2 separate regions of the Homo sapiens genome follow, and region 2 is linked to region 1. Evidence: promoter capture Hi-C in 16 types of primary human blood cells and fetal thymus (Javierre and others, 2016). All regions are on one chromosome and are shown on one strand. Each heading gives the region's core, a stretch centred on a gene start or on the middle of the fragment in contact. The rest is flanking DNA. Distances are from core to core; before and after follow the strand shown. Region 1 holds the start of COPS9 (COP9 signalosome subunit 9). Region 2 overlaps HDAC4 (histone deacetylase 4).

What was found. Contacts are between HindIII fragments. The CHiCAGO score rates a contact against its expected background, and 5 or more counts as called.
Region 2: a fragment that was not itself captured here is called in contact with the fragment with the promoter of COPS9 in region 1 in 1 of 17 cell types (non-activated CD4 T cells); the score reaches 5.7 in non-activated CD4 T cells.

What each region holds. Positions count from the first base shown.
Region 1 is chr2:240,133,531-240,138,776 of GRCh38, forward strand. It overlaps COPS9 (COP9 signalosome subunit 9), which reads right to left and starts at 2,775. Exons shown (of 3, transcript NM_001163424.2): 1 at 2,692-2,775; 2 at 403-475. The coding sequence starts at 2,754. RefSeq lists a silencer at 2,587-2,636 and enhancers at 3,077-3,176, 3,187-3,296. The HindIII fragment of the contact is 4,227 bases long and covers 1,938-5,246 here.
Region 2 is chr2:239,137,471-239,142,716 of GRCh38, forward strand. It overlaps HDAC4 (histone deacetylase 4), which reads right to left. Exons shown (of 27, transcript NM_001378414.1): 9 at 2,214-2,326. Among named protein-coding and RNA genes, the nearest start is that of HDAC4-AS2, 54 kb to the right of the region's middle. The HindIII fragment of the contact is 407 bases long and covers 2,713-3,119 here.

The DNA of each region.
Region 1 (5,246 bases), core at 1,525-4,024:
ACAGGTGGGCTGGGAGAGGAAAGGAAACCGGCTACCCGGAGAGGGCGGAGACAGGGAGACAGATGGGGTTCCTATGGCCGTGTGTGGGGTGAGGGCCCAGACCTGGCTACAGTCTGAGGTGTCCGCAGGCACATGTAACACGCATGCCAGAGCTCAAACTCAACTACTGGGCTGCAAGCTGGGAACAATTTCATGCTACTTTTCTCCTGAAAAATAAGGCTGCCTGCCAGTGGCCGCAGCCCGTGTCATCGCTCCACAGAGGCTGCACTGCATTCTGAGAGGAGCGCAGGGGCTCTACCACCTTATGATCCAAATTATTCATGTCACCAAGTTGCTTCACTGCCTTCACCTAGAGAAGAAATATTCAGATTAAATCTGGCATCCCATTCCAAGCATCCTTACCGTTAAAAAAGTCTGCATGAACGGCCTTTTCATTGGCTGCCAAGTCCATCAAGAGCCCGGTGCTGCCTCCCGCCTGGGGAATGGAAAGGCAAGGTTATGTCAGGTGCGTTTTCCGAAAGAACAGGTGATAAGTGCATTGCAGGGCCACTACCCCCACAAAAAAAGAAGATGGGTGAGGGGAAACAGGCTCAAGTTGGAGTCAACATTTTAGTTCCAGACACAGGAATGTGTATTGGGGGGAGGGGGAGGAATTCAAAGGAATGATTTTTAAGGTCTCTCAAGGGCTTCTGTTCCTTGATTCCTGTCTGCCTTTAAAAAAGAAACCTACCACTGACCTAAGCACCACTACTTCTCTGTGCCCCTCAAGGAGAGCTTTCCGATCCCTCGCCGGACATCGCCAGAGGCCACAAACATGCGAAATTGAGCCCATCGCCTCCACTCAGGATCCCTTCCCTCTCTCTTCTGGGAATGAAACCACTTCCCCGAGGAAACTGACCTGCTCTGCCTCTGAGGTTCTGGTGCCCCGCTGCTATCATGGACCGTCCACTGCCACAACTCCACGGCAGTGGAAAAACCATGTCACAACCCAAGCTGGGCAATCTGAAGCCCTCAGGATTTTGGGTCCTGTTTAGAGTCAACCGGTGACAGAGGGAGCAGATTCCTCTGACAGCAGCACCCTGGACAGCTGGCCACAGGTCCTGCTGCTGCCCTGGCCCCAGCATTCACAAGGCCGCTTGCTCAGACCTGCCCTGATCCCCACATAGCTGCATGCCCTTGTTCCCTTTCAGACACTCTCAGAAAAGCCAGGACACTCAGTCTCCTCCCCTGGCTTCTCAGCCACCCTCCCTGTCCCCATCAGCACAGTAAGCCACGCGCATTCTACCACTTGAAGCTTGTCCCTACCTCCATCTGCCTCATTCACACCCTCTTCAACTCTCCTGTTCTCCCTGCTCTCATTTTTCTACCCTCTCACCCGTAAATGCTGCCACCCTACAGAGCAAGTCGGAGCCTCTCACTCCCCACTGTAAAGCCCTCCGGTGGCTCCACATCGCCTAGGACTGTGAAGCCTAGGACTGTAAAACAGGACTGAGAAGCCTGGGTTTAATGGAAGTGCTTCGGGAGCGGGGTGCACAGAGCCACCCTCTTTAGCATGGTTCCAGATGGTTTCACGATCTGGGTAGGGAGAGAGTCCCTACCCACTGTCTCCCCTCTCTCTGGCACTGCACGCTCAACCATGTTAAACGACACAACATTCCCTTCCCTTGGTGAGCCAGTCGGCATCCCCCAACCCAGGGCTCTGCTCCTGCCGGGCCTTCATCCCCCACTACCTGGCAAACACCAATGTGTCCCCCAGCATTTGGCCACAGAGTCGACTCCTCAGCTGTACCTTTGCTGAGCCCCCTCAAAGCCCTGAGGGTCCATCCGTCGGTGCGCCTTCGGCTTTCTATGACACCTGGTATTTGCAATCAGCCGCTCTGCCATGCTATTACCTCCACAAGCACAAGGGCTGCCTCTGACCACCTCTGCAGCCCCTAAGCTTTGAGAAAGAGCACATAAGGCCCTGACATGTAGGAGCTGGCCTGCCACTCTGAGCTAGGCTGTGGTGCTCTCCTGCTGACCATAAACCATCTCAGAACGCTCACATCAGACAAGGTCACTCTGTGAACACAATAGAGACCAACAAAACCCCAAGACGACTGTATAATCCTGTATAATTAAAAAGAAGAACGAGGCCACTACGCAAAGCACATAAATGCCAGATGTCTCCTTTTCCGCTCCGACAGGAATGACGGCTGCTCCAGTCTTCCCTCATTCTAGTTAAGATTAAGAGGCCCAATCGGAGAATTATCCTCGCTTCCAAGGCACAGTAAAGCCCACTTTCTTCCCCCAAATCCCCTAACACGAGCTCAAATCCCACACGAGGTTATGGAGACGCACCGCGGGCCCCCATGGGGTGCTGCAGCCATCGAAGAGCAGCAAACGCAACTCCTCTGACCACGGGTGTGTTCCCGGGGGCCGTGGGGGCACCCAGCAGGCACTCAACCCTCAGGCTGCGCCTCCTGGTCCCCCGGGCTAGGGCACACGCTTCCCGCCGCGGTCGGTCGCCGCCTTTCACCAGGTGCTCGGAGAAACCGGGATTTGCTCTCCGCGGGGCAGGGAGCCTGGGAGCCGCGCCCATCGCCCACCCGCCCGGCCTCCCCTCCCCGGGACCCGCGCACCAGGACGCCGCCCTTCCGCTCCCCCTTCCCCGCTCCCCACGCTCGGAGACTCCCGCCGGGCCCGTGCCACCTCGTCCAGGTCCACGTAGGGCCCGGCGCCCTCGGGGAACATCTCGTCCACCGCCGGCTTCATCTCGGGGCCGCGGCGCTCTAGGCTCACTTCCGGCCTCAGAGCCGCTTCCGGCGCGCGCCACATGGCAGATCTAGACGCCGGAGGACCGCGCCTCTGTGGTGCCCGCCCGCTGGGGTGCTCCCGGCCGCCGGCGCGTCCGCGGCCACCGGCGTTTGTCTTTGCGCTGGCGAGGGCGGGCGTCTGCAACGCCTCTGATGGGCGGCCGGGCGGCCACGGGGAGAAAAGGCTGCCAGCAATGGGAGCAGTGCCTGCAGAGCACGCCTCCGACCAGAGGCCGGATCCAGAATAAAGAAGGAGCCTCAGACTCTGCCGCAAAGACGGCCGGGTTCACAGGAGCCCAGGGCTTGACCTTCAGACGTTTGTCTGAAGAAGACACACTCGCGGCCAGTGAGCAGATGAAGAGGTGAAAGCAAACCAGGGCCCCACGGCCGCTGCACCCCTGGGACGCCCAGAGTCAAAAAAACAGCAAAACACGGGTGGAAGGGTGCGCGGCACACGGGGCCCCTCGCACCGCGGCGGGGAGTGAGACGCGGCAGCCGGGGCGGGAGACGGGGGGGGGCAGGTCCCAGAAAATCAAACACGGACACCCACGTGGCCCAGCACTCCCCTTCCGGGCACAAGCCCAGAGGACCAAAAGCCGAGGCTCCAAGGGGCGTCTTTACCCCACGTTCACAGCAGCGTTATTTATAATAAATGAAAAAGGGAAGCGTCCCCCGCTGTCCCTGCCCATCGATGGATACGTGCATAAGCAAATGTGGGCCATGCACACTGTGGAACATTACTCAGCCTTTAAAAGGAAGGGAATGCCGACACCTGCTGCCACGCGCAGGAACATTGAGGACGCTCTGCCGAGGGAAACGGGCCAGTCCTAAGACAAACACCGCATGATTCCACTCAGCCGAGGCCCCTAGAGGAGTCAAAGTCATAGAGACAGAAAGTAGAAGGGGGTTATCAGGGTCTGGGGAAGGGGAAATGGGGAGTTCGTGTTTAGTGGGGACAGATTTTCAGCCTTGACAGATGAAAAGGATCTGTAGAGGCTGCTGGTGATGGCTGCACAGTTCGTGAATGTGCTTAACGTCACTGAAATGTGGTTAAGATGGAAACAATTTGTGAAGTTTTACCGTAATGAAAAAAACAACAAAAAAGAATGTGACAGAAATGCGAGGGAAAGGAGAAGGAAAGGGGTAAGAGGAGGGAGAAGGTTGGAGGAAGAGAGGGAGAGAGGAAGAACAGGGGAGGGAAGGAGAGAGAGCAACAGGTCCTGGAACTAGACTTTGCCAAAGATTCCTTGCTCAGCCAGACTTCGGTGGCCTCCTAACCTCCTCCCAGGCCCATCTGTGCACTGCATTGTCAGGTTCAGTTTTCGCAGAGAGCCCTGCTAAGTTGGTTTAGCCAGAGCCCCCCACCCTGGATATTGGATCGGGTTCCTGGTCCCCCAGCATCCCCAGGATGTCTGATGGCCCAGACCTGTCTTCAGCGAAAGCCCTGCGGGGTCGGCCGAGCCAGCATCCCGTCCCGCACTGTGTTCCTCCCAGTCATTTGCCACCCGCGACCCCACCTGCTCCTCAGCCGCAAACCCCCACTGCCTGTGCTGTTCGGAGCTGAGCCTGGTCTCCCTCCCCCACTGCAAGATCCCGTTGCAGTGGTCCCCACACCCGTCTCCAGGGTTCGGAACAACTTCTGAAAATTTCCAATAATGTTTTCCTTTAACAGGCCTTAGAGGAGTTGGGTTTGGGGGTTAGGCTGTAGAGAAGGGGAGTGGGGGGCGGCATGGATGAGGGTAGTTCCAGGGACAGGAATTGAGCTGAAATGTGAGGGGTGTGTGTGGCCTGAAAAGGGGCCGCCTGGCCTGAGTGGACAGTGTGGGACGCAGGGAGAAGCTGGCAGTGGATATTGGGTGAGCCTCATGCCATGCCAATGTGCATCACCCTGAAGGACCCAAGTGAAAGTCAGTCCGATGGAACAGGGGCTTGGCAGTGACTAAGAAGATTGACCCATTAAGTCAAGGTCTTTACTAGCTAAGGGGTGGAGCTGTGGGTCTCCACGGTCTGCTTGTACACCCTACAGGGATGGGGGGCTCACCACCTGTGCAGAGGCCATCCTATTGCTGGAGGCCCATCCCTGAGACACCATCGTGCTGCCTGCCCAGTCTTCCAGTGCCCCAGGTGAAGCCCCCTTCCTCCCAGCATCCTCAAAGCCTAGAGCCGTCCCTGGAAGACAGAGCCTGCCCAGGCCCCGCTGTCCCTGACCGATGACAGATACAGGTGGGGTTTCTCAGTTCCGTTTCCTGCTGCCTCCTGGGCACTGCTCCCAGGGGTGTGTCATGGTGTGGAGTCAGCCTAGCCCTGACTGTGGGTTTGTGTGCTGCCCAGCTTAGTGGCCCAGAGCGGGGGTGCCTGGACTAGAATCTAGCTACCCCCTAACCAGCTGTGTGACCTTAACAAGTCAGGCTGTGACCGCATGTCTCTGCCTCAGTTTCCTCACCCGTAATC
Region 2 (5,246 bases), core at 1,666-4,165, 1.0 Mb before region 1:
CCGGCACTCTGGGCCTCCCTGGCACTGTAGAGGAGGAGGTGCCCGGCACACTGGGCTTCCCTGGGTCCAGGGGGCCTTCAAGGTACAGTAGTGTTTCTAGGGACCCCAGGGTGAACAGAAAAGGCAGTGCTGAGAGCCAGGCTGGGAGGCCCCTGCTCCCCCCACATCCTCATCCACTCGAGACACCCCCTCTGACGGGCAAGCTCACTACACTCTGCACCACGTGAGAACGGAGAGCCAGCCCCTGGCCATGAAGCACAGGTGTTCTCACAGACCCGTCCAACTCTAGAGATACTGAAACCCAGAAAGGGCGCCTGGGTGTGATCCAACATGCAAAGGCTGCCCGTGCCCACTCTAATGAACATCTGATGTGGAACATGAACAATGGCACCTCTTGGTATTTCCTGTAACTCCTTCTACATGTTCTATTAATTTCCAGTAGCTTCATTTACGTATCGTGATTTCTAAAAATTAACACAGAACTGGAATGATGCAGACCCACCCAAACAAGGCACTGTTCCAATATTAACTACCATGTACATAAGTGCCTCATTTTAAATAAAAACATGTATCTAGGACCACAATCAACAAGATGCAACCAGTGTTAACCTCAGGGCAGGAAGTAATTTCTAGGTTGCATTATAAGGCTTATTACTGGTAGACCTCAGCTATGACCACAGCCATACAGAGGACTGTTAAAACTTCTAATCATCTAAATAAGTACTGAAGTTGGCAGGCTGAAGAAGACAGGTAATAAAAGAAATCGATGTATGAAGTAGAAAGAGTAAGAGAAATTGGGGATTAAGCAGCCTGGAGACAAAGGGCAAAATTCGTTCTGAGCAGTAATTCTAGTCTCTAAAAATGTTTATACATAAACGGTCTTGAAATTTGAAATGAAAATGCTAAACACTCATGCCTCTGTATCCCAGCTAAGATTTGCCAATCCTTTGGAAGGGCAGGATTCATTTCTAAATATTTAAGAAGGAAAGTCAATAACTATATTTAATAAATTATAGCCTTCTGTAAGTTGGAGAGAATTCAGAAAGAACCTCCCACTCAGTAGAACTCTGCCCCATGAAGCAGACACAGCATTTCCAGCTCAACTCATCAGAAAACTCACTGCTAAAGCGTACCCCTCCCACCCCTGCCCTGCAGTCAGGCCCACCCAGGCCCAGGGCACCACTCAGCCTGCGGGACTGCCTCTCTCTGCCTCTCTCTTCTTCCCCGTGCTCTGGGGGTGGCCTCTCCTTGTCAGTGGGGCATTGTGTGGAGTGTGGGGCAGGTCCTTGCTGCCTGCCTGGTTCTGTCCCTGGGCCTGGCACAAGGCGCTCGGGACACGTGTGGGATAAAGGCAGGGGGCGCAAAGGAGCTCAAGGAACACGGAGCGAGGTCCTCGGACCTGCTGCCCTGGAAAGCCTCCGAGTATGGTCAGTGTGCGACTCGGCCAGCCTGGGCGCCACTCCTCCCTGCCTTGCCACTCAGCTCCTGCGTCTCTGACATCTTTCCCACCTAGGGACTCCAAGCGTCCCCTGACTCCTCTCTAGCTTGCCAATGTCCCTCCCAGACTGTGGCACCACTTGGGGTCTGATGAAGGCAGGGGACCAGGGGTGCTGAGCTCTGCGGTCTGAGATGCCTGGTTCCCGTGATGCCTGGAAAAGTTCCCCGCTCTGTGGCTTTGGCCGGCCCTGCCATGCTGACCACGGGTGACGCTCCAGTCGGCCCTGACACATAGTTTGTTGGCCGACATCGTGTTGTGTATTTCTCAATACAAAATAAAAAATGTTAAGTCTCACTTAGCAACTATACCCACGTGCCCACGGCCTCTCAGCCACCCTCAGAGCACTGGCGACCACAGCGAGCTGGGCAGCAGGGATCCTGTCCACCTAGAGCACCTGCCATGCGTGGGCTTGTGCTGGGACACCATCTAGTGACATCTGCTCTGGAAGAGGTCAGGAGAAAGGACCAGGCTCAGGGCTGTCCCCGACGTGCCTGGAACTAGCGTGTTCATAATGAAAGGAGATGTCTGTGATGAGAGGAAGGCAGGAGAGTAACCTCCAACTGCGTCCTTTTTAGGATGGCTCACAGGCCACTTTCCCTCACCCCAAATTGGAAGGTGAAGAGTGAAGGGCAAGTGCAAAGTGGGGTCATTTCAAGCTCATCCGTCCCGAGTCCGACTCTAGCCGTAGGACACAGGACAAACGCTTCGCACTGACCTCCGCCGGGATGCTGGGGACGGCGGGCGCGATACCGTTCTCCGCGCTGACGCTCCCGGAGCTGTTGTTGGGTGAGCTGGGTCCGGAGCCTGGGGCGCTGCTGCACGCGGAGTCTGCGGAGGCAGAAATACCCTGGTGAGTGTTACTCCATGCGGAGGGAGGGCCGTGCTGACCTGTGGCCCGAATGCCCGGTGCCTTCCACGGACCTGCTCGTTAGCTTGCGACAGGCAGAAGTCCCAACAAAAAGAACATGGCCATGGTTTCAAAAAAGAAAGTATGATGCTGATTTCTGATTTTCCAGTTTTGCCACTGACTTCACTTTTTCTAGGACATGTACGTTACCAATTTTATACCTCGTTTGATTTTCAAGACAATTTTAAACACCAAAAAGATAAATCCTTAAACACTTATTAGTGACCTAACAACAGAAGACCAGAAAATGCAGAAGCTAAGTGACTTTGAAAAGCAAAAGGTCAGCTTTCCTGTGCTCACTATAAAAAGCTTAGTTCAAAATAAAGCAACCTACTATTAGTGTTCACTCTGAGCTGAATCCTCTCATTTTCCCTACATAGCAGCAAGCATCCAGGGGAAAATATAGCCAGTGTCTCCTGAGATCTATCCGTGCTACTGGAAAACACACGCTCGGACAGTCTTAGAGGATCTTTAACCATCGGTGCGGCTTGACCCTGGTTAATGAGACCAGGTTCCGCTCTGACTGAATGTGACTTCCAAAAGGGGCCACGTCCAATCCAAAGATCCCTTCACCTCTGAAGGGGTCTGCTGCTATTTTGGGCACACACATCCACCGTGGGAGGCCGCTGAGGCTCTCGATATTCACACAAGGATTTGTTTGGCTTGTCATATGTTTAGTTTAACGGCATTTTAACAATGGCATCATCTGGTTAAAGCTTTCCAAAGAAAACACAATGTGACCCATTTGCCTCGAGAACTCTAGGCGTCTGCTGTTCAGCAACGACTCTGGGTGCTCAGAACCTCGCCCCAACCTATATGCGCAGCGCATACAGGTCAGAAGGAAGGGACATGGTGGGGGCCCTGGAGGGGAGGTTAAGGGATGTTTTCCCCAAGCAGCCCCTCAACGGAGCCATCCCCAGCAAAGCCTCCTCCACGGTCTGCTTGCTGCCCGCGTCCTCCTGGAGCCCACGAGGACGCAGGTGCCCACTCATGCTGACTCACGTGGTATCCACGCCTGCTGGAGGTGGTGACTCTGCAAATATAGCCCCGAGCCACAGTGAGGAGGATGAGGAGGGTGGGGGAACAGGTAAAGCCACCCACAGCTCCCCCAACCTGGCAGACCTGATTCCAAACTTTGCCTTTATTAGCTCATCCATCTCTCAGTCACTGTTTGAGGAAGGTGCCATTATGACCCCGTTTCCCAGAAGAGGAGATGGAGGCATGGAGCAGCAACATCACTCGTCCCAGGCCACGTGGCTTGAGGGAACTGTCATGGGCGTCTGCATACCAGAGTTAACCCAGCTGGGTGGTGAAGGCGCACCTCCTCTGTTGACCACGCTGCCCACCAGGAACACCCTGGGAACATCTTGCCCTCAACAGCAGGGCAGTCTAAACCTCCCAAGGGCAAACCAGGGTGTCCACCCAGAAGCCCTACACCAGCCGCTCCCCATGGCTCTTGGAGCTCAAAAGAGTGTGGGGTCAGCTCACTGTCCTGGGCATTGAGCATGAATACAGGACTGGGTCCCGACCCTACCCCATCCTCTTTCTTTCCCTGGCCCTCTCACCCTCTCACTTCCACCAGACACTAACTCCAGAGGTAGGCTTCTCCCGCTGCCGAGGCCATGTTATTTGCACTGTGAGTGGGCATTCTGAGAATGCCACCTGGGCTGAGCCAGTGTTTGCATTTCACTCAAGAAAGCAGGACCCGCCTTCTCCAGGCCCCTCCAACTCTCCCATCTCTGCCCCACCTGCAGCCCACCGTAGCCCACCCTAGACCCCTGCTCTCTGATGTCAAGCTGTCTCCAGCTACACACCAAGATCCAGCAGATCTTCCCTGTAATGGGTGCCTCCCAGCTGTGTCGTCAGATAAATACCCTCACGCATGTGCCTGGGGAGTCCGGACAACTTTTTGGGGCGGTAAAAATTATATGTGTAACTTTCCACCCACTTTTAACTCAACGAGGTTAATTTTATTTTTTTGCATTCTACTTCCAGGAATAGGTCTAAGAAAATTCATATAAATGCATAATCTTCATAGTATTACTTAGATCAGCAAAACGGGAACACCATTGGAGGTGCTCAAAAGGCGTGTGGCTGAAATTGAGTGGAGAGGGATGCAGGATGGCGCAGGAAGATGGTGAGAACTCAGCTGTGAGGAAGGCGCAGAACATGGGCTGCGGGAAGGCGTGCAGAGTGAGAGAACTCAGGTGTGAGGAAGGCACAGAACACGGGCTGCGGGAATGTGCAGAGTGAGCAGGATTCACTCTGGACAGAGTGCGTATGGGAATGCATTTTCTTCTTTGTGCTCTACAGTAGACACCCAATTAATTAGTGACTGAGAAAAAGCAGAGTATCCACCTGGCTCTCTTTCTGCCAAGAACCGCGACTGCCTCCACCGCTCCATATGGGACCACCCTGCCTAATACCTGTCTTCTGGAAATCGGCTCCACTCCTCCGTGTGGGACCACCCCGCCTAGAACTCCTAATACCTGTCTTCTGAAAATCAGCTCCACTCAGAGCAGCCTCCCCATCGTGGCAGCTCCCTGGTACCAGTGCCGGCCAGGAGATGCACAACCCTCTGCCTCTCTGCCCCAGCCCCACTCACCCGCCAAGTCCCAGTGCAAATGCCACCTTCTGCAGAGCTCTGCTGGCTTAGAGTGGCTTGTGCTGATCTCCCAACTCCTAGGTGCCTCGGCACGGGCTCCCTTTATGCCACAGCTCAGCACTGATCACGCCCTGCCACGCATGGCTCCTGGGTGAGCTCAGCACTGATCACGCCCTGCCACGCATGGCTCCTGGGTGAGCTCGGCACTGATCATGCCCTGTCACACATGACTCCTG